Linked DNA regions of Homo sapiens: all the other regions are linked to region 2. The links are contacts of gene promoters, found by promoter capture Hi-C in human tissues and cell types (Jung and others, 2019). All regions are on one chromosome and are shown on one strand. Each heading gives the region's core, a stretch centred on a gene start or on the middle of the fragment in contact. The rest is flanking DNA. Distances are from core to core; before and after follow the strand shown. Region 1 has its middle 460 kb from the start of MIR4454. Region 2 holds the start of NPY5R (neuropeptide Y receptor Y5). Region 3 has its middle 380 kb from the start of FSTL5.

Region 1 (3,975 bases), core at 1,476-3,975, 710 kb before region 2:
TACACAGCATCCTCAGCACATGGATTATTATCAAGAATGGATCATATATTAGGCCACAAAAAGGTGTTAAAATTTCAGAATAATTGAAATTATACAAGTATCTCCTCTGATCACAATAAAATAAAACTAGAAATCACTAACAAGAGGAATCTTGGAACCTATGCAAACACATGGAAATTAAATAATATACTCCTGAATGACCAGTGGGTCAATGAATAAATTAAGAAGAAAATTACAAAATTTCTTGAAACAAATAATAATGGAAGCACAAAATACCAAAACCTATGGGATGCAGCAAAAACAATACTAAGAGGAAAGTTTAAAGCTGTAAGCTCCTACATCAAAAAAATAGAAAAACATCAAATAAACAGCCTAACAATCCATCTGAGAAAACTAGAAAAGCAAGCGCAAACAACCAAAACTCAGTAGAAGAAAAGAAAAATAAAGATCAGAGAAGAAATAAATAAAATTAAAGTAAACAATACAAAAGATAACAAAAAATTTTTTTAAAAAAACAGTAAACAAAATCAGCAAGCTTTTAGCCAGACTAAGAAAGAAAAAAAAAAGAGAAGACCCAAATAAATAAAATCAGAAATAAAAAAAGAGACATTACAAATGATACTGCAGAAATTCAAAGGATTATTAGAGGCTACTGTGAGCAACTATATGCCAATAAATTGGAAAACCCAGAATGAATGGATTAATTCCTAGACACATACAACCTACCAAGATTGAACCATGAAAAAACCTAAAACCTGAAGAGACAAGTAACAAGTAACGACATTGAATTTGTAATAAAACGTCTCTCAGCAAAGAAAAGTCCAGAATCTGATCATTTCAATGGTGAATTAACCAATAATACCAATCCTACTCAAACTATTTCAAAAGTACAGGAGAAGGGAGTACTTCCATACTCTTTCTACAAGGCCAGTACCAAAACTAGGTTCCTGATACCTGATACCAAAACTAGACAAAGACACAACAACAACAAAATTATAGGCCAATATTCCTAATGAACATTGATATGAAAATCCTCAAAAAAAATACTAGCAAATCGAATTCAACCACACATTAAAAAGAGCAATCATCATGACTGAGTGGGATTTAACACATGGATAAAATAATGGCTCAGCATACACAAATTAATCAATGTGATACATCACATTAACAGAATAAAGAATAAAAACCATACGATTATTTCAATTCATGGTGAAAAAAGTATTTGACAAAATTTAACATGCCTTCATAGTAAAATTACTCAAAAAGCTGAGTATAGAAGAAACATACCACAGTACAACAAAAGTTACATATGATAGACCCACAACTAGTATCATACTGAATGGGGAAAAACTGAAAACCTTTCCTCTAAGATGTGAAACAGGACAAGGATGCTCACTTTAATCACTACAATTCAACATAGTACTGGAAGTCCAAGCTACAGCAATAAGACAACAGCAAGAAATACAGGGCATCCAAATTGTAAAGGAAGAAGTCAAATTATCCTTATCTGCAAATGATGTGATCTCATACTTAGAAAAACCTAAAGACTCTACCAAAAAGCTATTGGAACTGACACACAAATTTAGTAAAGTTGCAGAATACAAAATGAACATACATAAATTTGTAGCAGGTTGGGCCCAGTGGCTCATGCCAATAGTCCCAACATTTTAGGAGGCTGAGGCAGGAGGATTGCTTGAGCCCAGGTGTTTCAGACCAGCTTGGGCAATATAATGAGACCTAATCTCTATAAAAAAATTTTAGAATTAGCTGAGTGTGGTGGCATGTGCCTACAGTCTCAGATACACAGGAGGCTGAGGTAGGAGGATCGCTTGAGCATGGGAGGTGGAGGTTGCTGTGAGCTCAGACTGTACCACTAAATTCTAATCTTGGTGACAGAGCAAGATCCTATCTTGAAAAAAGAAAAAAACTACAAAATCCATAACATTTCTGTATGCCAATAATGAACAATCTGAAAAAGAAATTAAGAAAGTAATCCCGTTTACAATAGCTATGAATAAAATAAAATACCTAGGAATTAACCAAAAAAGTGAAAGATCTGTAAAATAAAAACTATAATATGATGACAAAAGAAATTAAAGAGGACACAAAAAATGGGAAGATATTTTATGTTTATGGTTTGCAAGAATTTACATCGTTAAAATGTCCATACTACCCAAAGCATTGTACAGATTCAAAGCAATGCCTATAAAAATACTGATGACATTCATCACAGAAATAGAAAAAAAATCCGAAATTCATATGGAACCACAAAAGACCCAGAATAGCCAAAGCTATCCTGAGCAAACAGAACAAAACTGGAGGAATCACATTACCCAATTTCAAATTATACTATAGAGCTATAGTATCAAAGCAGCATGATACTGGCATAAAAACAAACATGCAGACCAATGGAACAGAATAGAGAACTCAGAAACAAATCCATAGATCTACAGTGAACTCATTTTTGACAAAGGTGCCAAGAATATACATTGGGGAAAGGACAGCCTTTTCAATAAATGCTGCTGGGAAATCTGGATATCCATATACAAAAGAATAAAACTAGACCTCATCTCTTGACATATACAAAAATCAGATCAGAATTAATTAAAGACTTAAATCTAAGACCTCATATTTTGAAACTACCAAAATAACTTCTCTAGGACATTTGACTAGGCAAAGATTTCTTGAGTAATACCCCACAAGTACAAGCAACCAAAGCACAAATGGACAAATGAGATCACATCAAACTAAGAAGTTTCTTCACAGCAAACAATCAACAAAGTGAAGAGACAACTCACAGAATGGAGAGAAAATATTTGCAAACCATCCATCTGACAAGTGAATAATAACCACAATATAGGAGGAGCTCAAACTATTCTATAGAAAAAAATTCAATAATGCAATATAAAAATGGGCAAAATATCTGAATATACATTTCTCAAAGAAAGACAATTGACAAACAAGTATATGAAAACGTTCTCAACATCAATGGTCATCAGATAAATGCAAATCAAAACTACAATGAGATATCATGTCACCCCTGTTAAAATAGCTTTTATCAAAAAAAAAAAAAAAACAGATAATAACAAATGCTAATGAGGATGTGGAGAAAAGAGAACCCTTGCACCTGTTGGTAGGAATGTAAATTACTACCACCACTTTGGAGAATGATTTGAAATTTCCTCAGGAAACTAAAAATAGAGCTATAATATGATCCAGAAATCCCACTGCTAGATATATACCCAAATAAAGGAAATCGGTATATTGTAGAGCTATATGCACTTTCATGTCTATTGCAGCACTGTTCTCAATAGCCAAGATTTGGAAGCAACCTAAGTGTCCATCAACAGATGAATGGATAAAGAAAATGTGGCACACATTGTATATACACAATGGAGCACTATTCAGCCATAAAAAAGAATGAAATCATATCATTTGAAACCACATGGATGAAATCGGAGATCATTATGTTAAGCCAGACACAGAAAAACAAATATCACATGTTCTCACTCATATGTGGGAGCTAAGAAGGTAGATCTCATGGAATTAGAGAGTAGAATGATGGTTACCAGAGGCTGGGAAAGGTAGTGAGAGTAAGGGGTAAGTGGGAATGATTAAAGAGTATAAAAATATAGTTAGATAGAATGAATAAAATCTAGCATTTGATACCACAACAGGATGACTACAGTAAATAATTTCTTGTACATTTCAAAATCAGTAAAACAGTATAATTGCATTGTTTGTAACACAAAGAAAGGATAAATGCTCAAGGTATTGAATACCTCATTTACTCTGATGTGATTATTATATACTGTATGCCTGTATCAAAATATCTCACGTACAGTAAAAATACATACACCTATGTACTCGCAAACATTGAAAATAAATTTTTTAAAAAAATCAAAGGCATTTTTGAAAAACACAAATTAAGCAGGTTACTATAATAAAAATATTTAAAATGTTGAAAGAGTATGC
Region 2 (4,283 bases), core at 1,717-4,216:
AAAAGGATAAATAAAGTGTTGCTTAAGGAGCACAGTGTTTATCAGAAGTCAATACAATGTTAATGATGCCCCCGTAGGACCTCACAATTATCGTTAAGTTGCCTGGGAAATGGACTCAATGCACACAATACTTTGGGCTAAACTTCTTTTCAATAGCTTTTGGGTTTTTTTTTTGTTCAAAAAAAAATCATGTATTTCATAATAAGAAGTTGGCTCCTCATTTGAAGTCCTAAATATTGATTTATGTGACAAATTATTACTATTCCAAAGAAATCAATGCAGCATAGAGCATCATAAAATATTTTTGATAACACATCTTTTAAGTATTAAGGATTTAAATTTACCGTGATAGAAAAAGTGGATGAAGAAACATTTACCCTTAAGGAATACAACGAAATTCTCAGAGAAATAAATGCATAAAGTAAAATAATACTGTTTTCTCTAGTTTATTTACCTCTACTTGTTCTATAACTAATATATCAAAGTCAAATATCATTTGAGATTATACCAAAACACTTTAGTAATTGCTTTCCACAAATAGTAGCTGTTATTAAAATGCAGCAGTAGCTTTGACAAGAACCACAGCCATGTTCCTCAGCAAAATACTACCCCAGGAATTGTTGGGTGACTGTTTTATCGTTCAATAATTTGTCTTAGGAGTCCCAAGTCACCTTTAACTTTTACCTTTACAGATAAGCTTTCTTTCATAACTGATAATGAACTGTAATAACAGGGCAATAGCCAGTTTAATTTTGTAACATGCATAAAATCCAACTTAATTTCCCAAATGAGCATTTTATAAATAGTGAGTAGGAAAAATACATAAAACAGAGGTGGACATTACTACTTCTGTTCTGGTATTCCCCTTCGCTAAGATGTTACTCCATAAAATAAAAATAAAATTATTATGTTCTACAAAGAGTAATGATGATCAGTCTCAAATCCCCCCTGGGAAATTTAAAGGTAAAAACACACTTATCTTCATATCTTCCTCTTTATGTAGCATATTGCTTAAATTTGTAAATTTATAATTTCCTCAAAAAAACTCTTAATAACTTGTCCACTCCAAGTGTTCTTAATACTGTGTATTGTCACGTGTATTTAAAGAAGAAATGCCAACTCCTGTTTTTGAGACTTGCTTGTTTGTGGGTGCAGTGGGAAGGGAAAATAGCCAGGTTAATTAGAATCTTTGTATCAGTGGCAGGTAGCCTTTTATTTTCAATACTCTAATAACAGTGACTTCAACCTAAAGGTTCATATCATCAAAATAGAAAACAAATTTGTGGAAAATAAAAAATAAGATTTTTTAATACTTTTAATATGCAAAAGCCTGTAGCATAGACTAGTGTTTTGAAAGTCACAATGGGGTTCACTTGGAATTTGTTTTAAAGACAATGTGTATTTGAAGTGTACATGTTATGACTGTGCAAGAGATGGAAAGATAGAAATTTATGTGGCAATGTGTACTGCATTAACCGCAGAGACAGTGGAGTTAAGAAAGTCTAAAAAACAAGCCTTATTTTCTCAAGGTCATCCCTTCTTGACACTTTCATCCCCTACTCCTTACTGCAGAATCCCAGGTGCCTGCTCAGACGGCCTATTCTGTTAAGCTTTTGGGGAGAATATATTAATATTTCAGAAATAACACACAGAAGAATAAAACAGGAACTGTGTTTACTTGAGTTCTTTAAAAGCTCTTGGATGACTCTTTGACTGATGAAATAGCAATCTATACAGATCCCCTGAGTATTGAATGCTGAAATCCAGCAGAAAGGGGACACAAAAAATTTTCTTTGACCTCTTCTGTAACAGTGATGTCTGCCCCAGATGTTAGAATTACAAGTCACATTGCTCCCAAGGGGTACAGTTCTCTTCGGTTTATCCCACACGACTCTACTCAGCAGGAGATGCTGTCTGTTACATAATAGTTCTCAGTATTAAAGGGTACAATAACTACACCCTTTCTCATGGTAAAGCTATGTCCAAAGACACATGGACATCTACCCAATGTCTCTTTTCTCCCTTCTCTCCTTCTCTCTCTCTCTCTCTCTCACAGACACACACACACACACACACACACACACACACACACACGCGCGCGCGCCTAAAGTACCTGCCACCTAATGATTAGCTAAAAATAAAGCAAACCTGCGCAATACAGATTTGGAAACATTAGGGATGGAAATCATGTTGGGAAGGAACAGAAGGACAGGTTTTCTCTTCTTCTTTTGTGTGGGCTTTTTTCCCGTCTTTTTTTTTTTTTAACCTGTGACAATTCGTTTTTAGCCCTTCGTCTTCTCTTTGCTATTGAATATAGTCTTGAGCAGCGTTGATTTCATTTCAGCTTCACTCCCCTGCTCCTGCCACTTGCCCACACCCACAGCTGCCACTCCTTGGAGTGGGGAAACTTCCCTTCTATTCTGCTGGGCTCATTACCGCAGACGCTGTTGCCTCTCCTGAACATTGGGTCAGCCTCCCCACCTCCACTCTTCCTTACTTCAAAGAGGTGCAAAGGAAGAGCAGTGTTTTGTCTTTTTTCTTTCTTTCTTTCTATCACCACACCACCCCCCACCGTCCCCCACCCCAAACAAAGATAAAACCTGAGAGTCGAAGCTTGTTCTCAGGAATACTAAGAACTTAGGGGCACAGCCATCCTCACACCAGTCCAAGACTTCTCAGAGTTCACTACACAGGGTTGAGGGCTGGACCGGCAAAACTCGATTTGCCCATCAAGTTAACTTGGTCGGCCTGGGACCCGAGGCCAGGGTGAAGGGACGACATCCCGGGGCCCTGTGGCTTCTCCCTAGAGCGCCCAAACAGCGGCGTAGGTCTGGGACGCCCCCGGCCCCCGGCTTTGGAAGAGGCTGGCGCGGAGCAGGCGCCTTGGAGCAGGGTCTCGGGGGTCCCCGGAACAGTCACGTGTTCTCGAGACGCCGTTAAACCCCCGCCCCCTCTTCCCCACCGCCGCCTCCAGGTCCTGCTCCCGCTGCTGCCGCCACCGCCGGGGTGCAGGAGCGATCGCGCTGGGCCGCGCTCCCGGGAGCCCAGGGCCTGCAGCGGCCGGGGCGCCCCGAGGTACGGGCTCCCGCCCCTCCCTGCCAACCCCTTTCGCGCCGGGTAGGCCTGCACCGAGGGGCCGTGGCGGGTCCCCGCGCGGGCTGCGAGTCTGCGCAGGTCCCTGGGAGCCCGCACCCGTCTCTGGTGCCAGGGCGTTGTCGGGGGTCCCAAGAGAGCGGGGTGGGGAAGGTGAAGGGAGCGCGGCTGGAAAAATGGGGATTAGGGTGGCGGAACAGGCACTTGTCAGGAGTGAAGAGACAGCGGAGAGGGTACTGGGCTGAATTCTTTCGTGCCGAGCAGGTCCCTCCGGTTCCCAACTCACCCGGGTGGAGCAGGCGCGGGCCGAACCCGGGAGGAGAGTGTCGGGGATCCGCGAAGGAGCCTCCTGGGGATGGGGCGGGGGATGGACAAAGCGCTGCCCCCGGCTGGACGCGCTCTGGCTGCAGCCCGGCTGGCATCCGGAGCTGGGAACAGCAGCCCGCGGGGTGCCCGGGTCAGGGCTCAACCCTAGCGGGTCTCTGGCGAGGCCGGGGGCGCAGCCCGCGGGGCGCCACTCAGGCCGTCCAGCTGCCGCGCGGTCCAGCGCTGACCCGAGCCCGGGAGGCAGCTGCGCTCTAAGGTTTGCGCTCCTGTTTGCGAGGTGTCTTCATATAACAAATGCGAGCAATAACAAACATCCATAGAACTCGAATTCCAGAAACGGGAATTCTTTTTTCCAAGTTCACAGACCTTTAGTTAATCTTTTAAAGGAACTGAGGCGTTGTGTTGGACCAAAGCCAAAACGATTTTACCTTAGACCATGGAAAATAGCCTAAGGCTCTTTCAGCAGAATTTTGCAGTCCGAATGCAATTTTAGATTTCAGATTTCTCAAGGGAAGAGAAACTCTGCTGTTAGAATTTGGAAGGGAGGGTGGTGCATGCCTGTGTGTTTGTCAGCTGAGCAGAGCTGTATTTATCTTTCCAATTCAAATTGTGCCAGATTCTGGCTTTAAGAACAAACCATGGGAATATTTGAGAACATGGAATCATGCTGCTGTTCCACGATCACAGCAAAACAGACAATAGTTGATATTGTATCATTGCAGGAGGAAAAAGAATTACATATATTTTATTCTTTTGTGTGATTGTCATCCTTTGTGAAAAGAATGATGTGTATTTTCATAAAGCAAAAAATTATTCAAACAAAGAAACCTTATTTAAATGTACAAGTCAGACTTTTAATATCC
Region 3 (4,319 bases), core at 443-2,942, 800 kb before region 2:
AGAAGTCAGATTTCCCTATAGATAAAAATACAACATAATATATAATTCCTCTGATCTTTGCTGTGACATTTAAGAGAAGAAAAAAATTCACAAATCCAATTATAAAATATATAATGTTAAAGAAAAATAAATTTAGAAACTAATTTGCATCATAAATATTAGATATATAATAAATATTTATTATTTAAATTACCATTTATGCCTTTATAATAACAAGAGTTAAGCAAATCTTATTTAATCTTATATTTTATTCATATTCAGAATTGGGTACACTTTTACTATGTAAGTAAAAAGTGACTCTTTTCATATTCATTTTCCAAGCAGTTCTTAGGAGTGCATTATTTATGAATATAGATGTTCATCTGCATTGCTCCTTTCTAAAAGGTTGTTATTGTGTCTAGATTAGACAATGTATTCAAAACTCAAAGTACAGTGTCTGGCACATCATAAGTCTCAGTACATCTTCCTTCAATTCTCTCCTGATCCTGATATACTAACAATCACATTATCAAAAGGTTCATTATCATTTTTAACATAATCTACTTATTGAAATAGAGCTGTTTCCATTCTTTCATTGTAATTAAAATACTTAATATAGCAGATAATTTACATTTTAATTTTTGCTTCCAGCACTAAAAGAGATTTACAGTCACTTATGAAAAAAAGCATAAAGCTTTTAGCGTTATCATTAGATTATGAGAAAGTATTTTAAAAACTTAAAATAATTACACAATTTTAATGTTTGAAATTAGAACCCATTAGTTTTTCTTTCACAGTTACCCTAAAAACACTCATACACATTTCCATGGCAATAGTACTGGAGCTTTTGTAAGAAAGCATAAATATTGCCCAAAAAAATTAGTGTTCACTAAGATTTCCCTTTTCTGTTCTGGATTCTTTATTCCCAATGATATAATTCTAAGAAATGGTTGTTATATACATATTAAGATATTTTGAAAAGAGAAGGAGAGTTTATGTGGTTTAAATATTATCATTAGTTAGCAAAGTATATTTATATATCTTCTACTTTACAGCTGTTAAAATAATAGTGATGATAGTGTTTAAAATACACACATTTGAAATTATAGGTATAATATGTGTATATATATAAAATGTGTGTGTTTGTGTGTGGAGATACATATATATGTATGTATGTGTGTGTATATATATGTGTGTGTATATATATGTGTAATATATAAGAAGTAACCATAAAGTTTATACATTTGGATCCAAACAACCTGCAATTTCAAACGGTATATGGTTGTCATGCCAACCTAACTTTTCTCTAATAAGGTCATAATTTCATGCCTCAAATAGTTTGTAATCAATCACAAACAATTACATGAATTCATATACATATATACCTCACATGCAAAGACAGAGAAAGAAAGAACATGATGACATATTGGTAATGCAATATTAAATGAATAAATAAGTTGTGGAGTAAATTTCCTATTAAAAAGCAATAAGTAAAACTTTATATGTAATACACACTTTTCAATATGTTTATTTAAACACAGAGATAATTGTTCAAAGTTGCACAACTACCTGATAAAGTTTGGTACTTTGGGGGAAAATAATATGGAGGAGAAGAATGGAGAGATAATTCAACTTTTCTACATACAATTTGTATTGTTTGAATAGTTAAATCCACAGTTTTCCATAGTGGTTGTACTAGTTTACTTTCCCACCAGCAGTGTAAAAGTTTTCCCTTTTCACTGTATCCATGCCAACATCTATTATTTTTTGACTTTTAAATTATGGCTATTCTTGCAGGAGTAAGGTGGTATTGCATTGTTGGTTTGATTTGCATTTCCCTGATAATTAGTGATATTCAGCATTTTTTCATATGTTCATTGGCCATTTTTATATCTTTTATGAGAATTGTCTGTTCATCTCCTTGGCCCACTTTTTGATGGGATTTTTTTTCCTGCTGATTTGTTTGACTTCCTTGTAGATTCTGGATATTAGTCCTTTATCGATTTGTAGATTGTGAAGATTTTCTCCCACTCTCTGGGTTGTCTGTTTACTCTGCTGATTATTTCTTTAGCTGTGCAGAAGTTTTTAAATTTAATTGTCATTTATTTATCTTTGTTTTTGTTGCCTTTGCTTTTGGGTTCTTGGTCATGAAGTCTTTGCCTAAGCCAATGTCTAGAAGGGTTTTTCTGACGTTATCTTCTAGAAATTTTATGATTTCAGGTCTTAGATTTAAGTCATTGATCCATTAAGTTGATTTTTGTGTAAAGTAAGAGATGAGGATCCAGTTTCATTCTTCTACATGTGGCTTAATTATCCCAGCACCATGTTTTGAACAGGTTGTCCTTTCCCCACTTTATGTTTTGTTTGCTTTGTCAAACATCAGTTGGCTGTAAGTATTTGGGTTTATTTCTGGGTTTTCTATTCAATTCCATTGGTCTATGTGCCTATTTTTATGCCAGTACCATGCTGTTTTGGTGACTATAGCCTTGTAGCACAGTTTGAAGTCAGTTAATATGATGCCTCCCAATTTATTCCTTTTGCTTAGACTTGCATTGGCATGTAAACTCTTTTTGGTTCCATATGAATTTTAGGATTGTTTTTTTCTAGTGCTGTGAAGAATGATGGTGGTATTTTGATGGGAACTGCATGGAATTTGTAGATTGCTTTTGGCAGTATGGTCATTTTCACAATATTGATTCTACCAATCCATGAGCATGGGAAGTGTTTCCATTTGTTTGTGTCATCTGTGATTTCTTCCAGTGGTGTTTTGTAGTTTTCCTTTTACTAAGTAGCTTTTTAATCTGCATCCTCCTCCCACTCTCCACCCTCAAGTAGGCCCTATTTTTTGTTGTTCCCTTCTTTGTGTCCATAGTACTCAATGTTTAGCTCCCATTTATAAATGAGAACATGTGGTATTTAGTTTTCTGTTCATGTGTTAGTTGACTTAGGATAATGGCCTCCAGCTCCAACCACATTGCTGCAATGGACAAGATTTCATTCTTTTCATAGCTGCATGGTATTCTATGGTGTATATGTACCATATTTTCTTTATCCAGTCTACTTTTGATAGGCATTTAAGTTGATTTCATGTCTATGCTATTATGAATAGTGCTGAAATAAACACACAGGTGCATGTGTCTTTATGGTGCAATGATTTATATTTCTTTGGATATATACCTAATAATGGGATTGCTGTGTCAAATGGTAATTCTCTTTTAAGTTTATTGAGAAATCACCAAACTGCTTTCCATAATGGCTGAACTAATTTACATTCCTAACAGCAGTGTTGAGCATTTTTTCATGTGCTTGTTGGAAGCATATACGTCTTCTTTTAAAAGGTATCTGCTCGTGTTCTTTGCCTACCTTTTTATAGGGTTGTTTTGTGCTTGTAAAGTTAAATTCCTTATAGACTCTAGATATTAGACCTCTGTTGGATCCATAGTTTGCAAAATGTTTTTCCCATTGTTTGTTTACTCTGTTGATTGTTTCTTTTGCTGTGAAGAAGTTCTTTTGTTTAATTAGATTCCATTTATCCACTTTTGTTTTTATTAGAATTGCTTTTGGTATCTTAATCATGAAATCATTATTGAAATTATGTCCAGAATGGAATTTCCTAGGTTATAATGCAGGATTTTTATAGTTTTAGGATTTGCATTTTCTCCGTCTTTAATACATCTCGAGTTGACTTTAGGGGTCCAGTTTCAATCTGCATATGGCAAACCAGTTATCCCAGCACCATTTTTGAATAGGGAGTCTTTTCCCCATTGCTTGTTTTTGTTGATTTTGTCAAAGATGAGATGGTTGTAGGTGTGTCCATTATTTCTGGGCTCTCTATTATGTTCCATTGGTCTATGTGTCTGTTTTTGCAGCAGTGCCATGCTGTTTTGGTTACTGTAGCCTTGTAGTATAGTTTGAAGTCAGGTTATGTAATGCCTCCAGCTTTGTTCTTATTGCTTAAGATTGCCTTGGCTATTCAGGCTTTTCTTTGGTTCCATGTGAATTTTAAAATAGCTTTTTTCTAATTCTATAAAGAATGTCATTAGTAGTTTGATAGGAACACTAAACCTATAAATTACTTTGGGAAATATGGCCATTTTAACTACATTGATTCTTTCTATCCATGAGCATGGAATGTTTTTCCATTTGTTTATGTCATGTGATTTATTAGAGCATTGTTTTGTAATTCTCATTGTAGAGATCTTTCACCTCCCTGGTTAGCTGTATGCCTAGTTATTTTATTCTTTTTACGACTGTTGTGAATGAGATTTTGTTCTTGGTTTGGCTCTCAGCTTGGATGTTGTTTGTGTCTAAGAATGATACTGACTTTTGTACACTGATTT

Evidence for each region. Contacts are between HindIII fragments. The study calls those that stand out against the background at their distance.
Region 1: a contact is called between a fragment that was not itself captured here and the fragment with the promoter of NPY5R in region 2, in 1 of the 25 tissues and cell types used here (dorsolateral prefrontal cortex).
Region 3: a fragment that was not itself captured here is called in contact with the fragment with the promoter of NPY5R in region 2 in 2 of the 25 tissues and cell types used here (dorsolateral prefrontal cortex and hippocampus).

The regions. Positions count from the first base shown.
Region 1 is chr4:162,631,444-162,635,418 of GRCh38, forward strand. No RefSeq gene overlaps it. Among named protein-coding and RNA genes, the nearest start is that of MIR4454, 460 kb to the right of the region's middle. The HindIII fragment of the contact is 8,643 bases long and covers 1-3,975 here.
Region 2 is chr4:163,340,926-163,345,208 of GRCh38, forward strand. NPY5R (neuropeptide Y receptor Y5) reads left to right here and starts at 2,967. Exons shown (of 4, transcript NM_006174.4): 1 at 2,967-3,075. It also overlaps a transcript of NPY1R not described here. The HindIII fragment of the contact is 9,678 bases long and covers 2,112-4,283 here.
Region 3 is chr4:162,541,957-162,546,275 of GRCh38, forward strand. No RefSeq gene overlaps it. Among named protein-coding and RNA genes, the nearest start is that of FSTL5, 380 kb to the left of the region's middle. The HindIII fragment of the contact is 3,472 bases long and covers 1-3,428 here.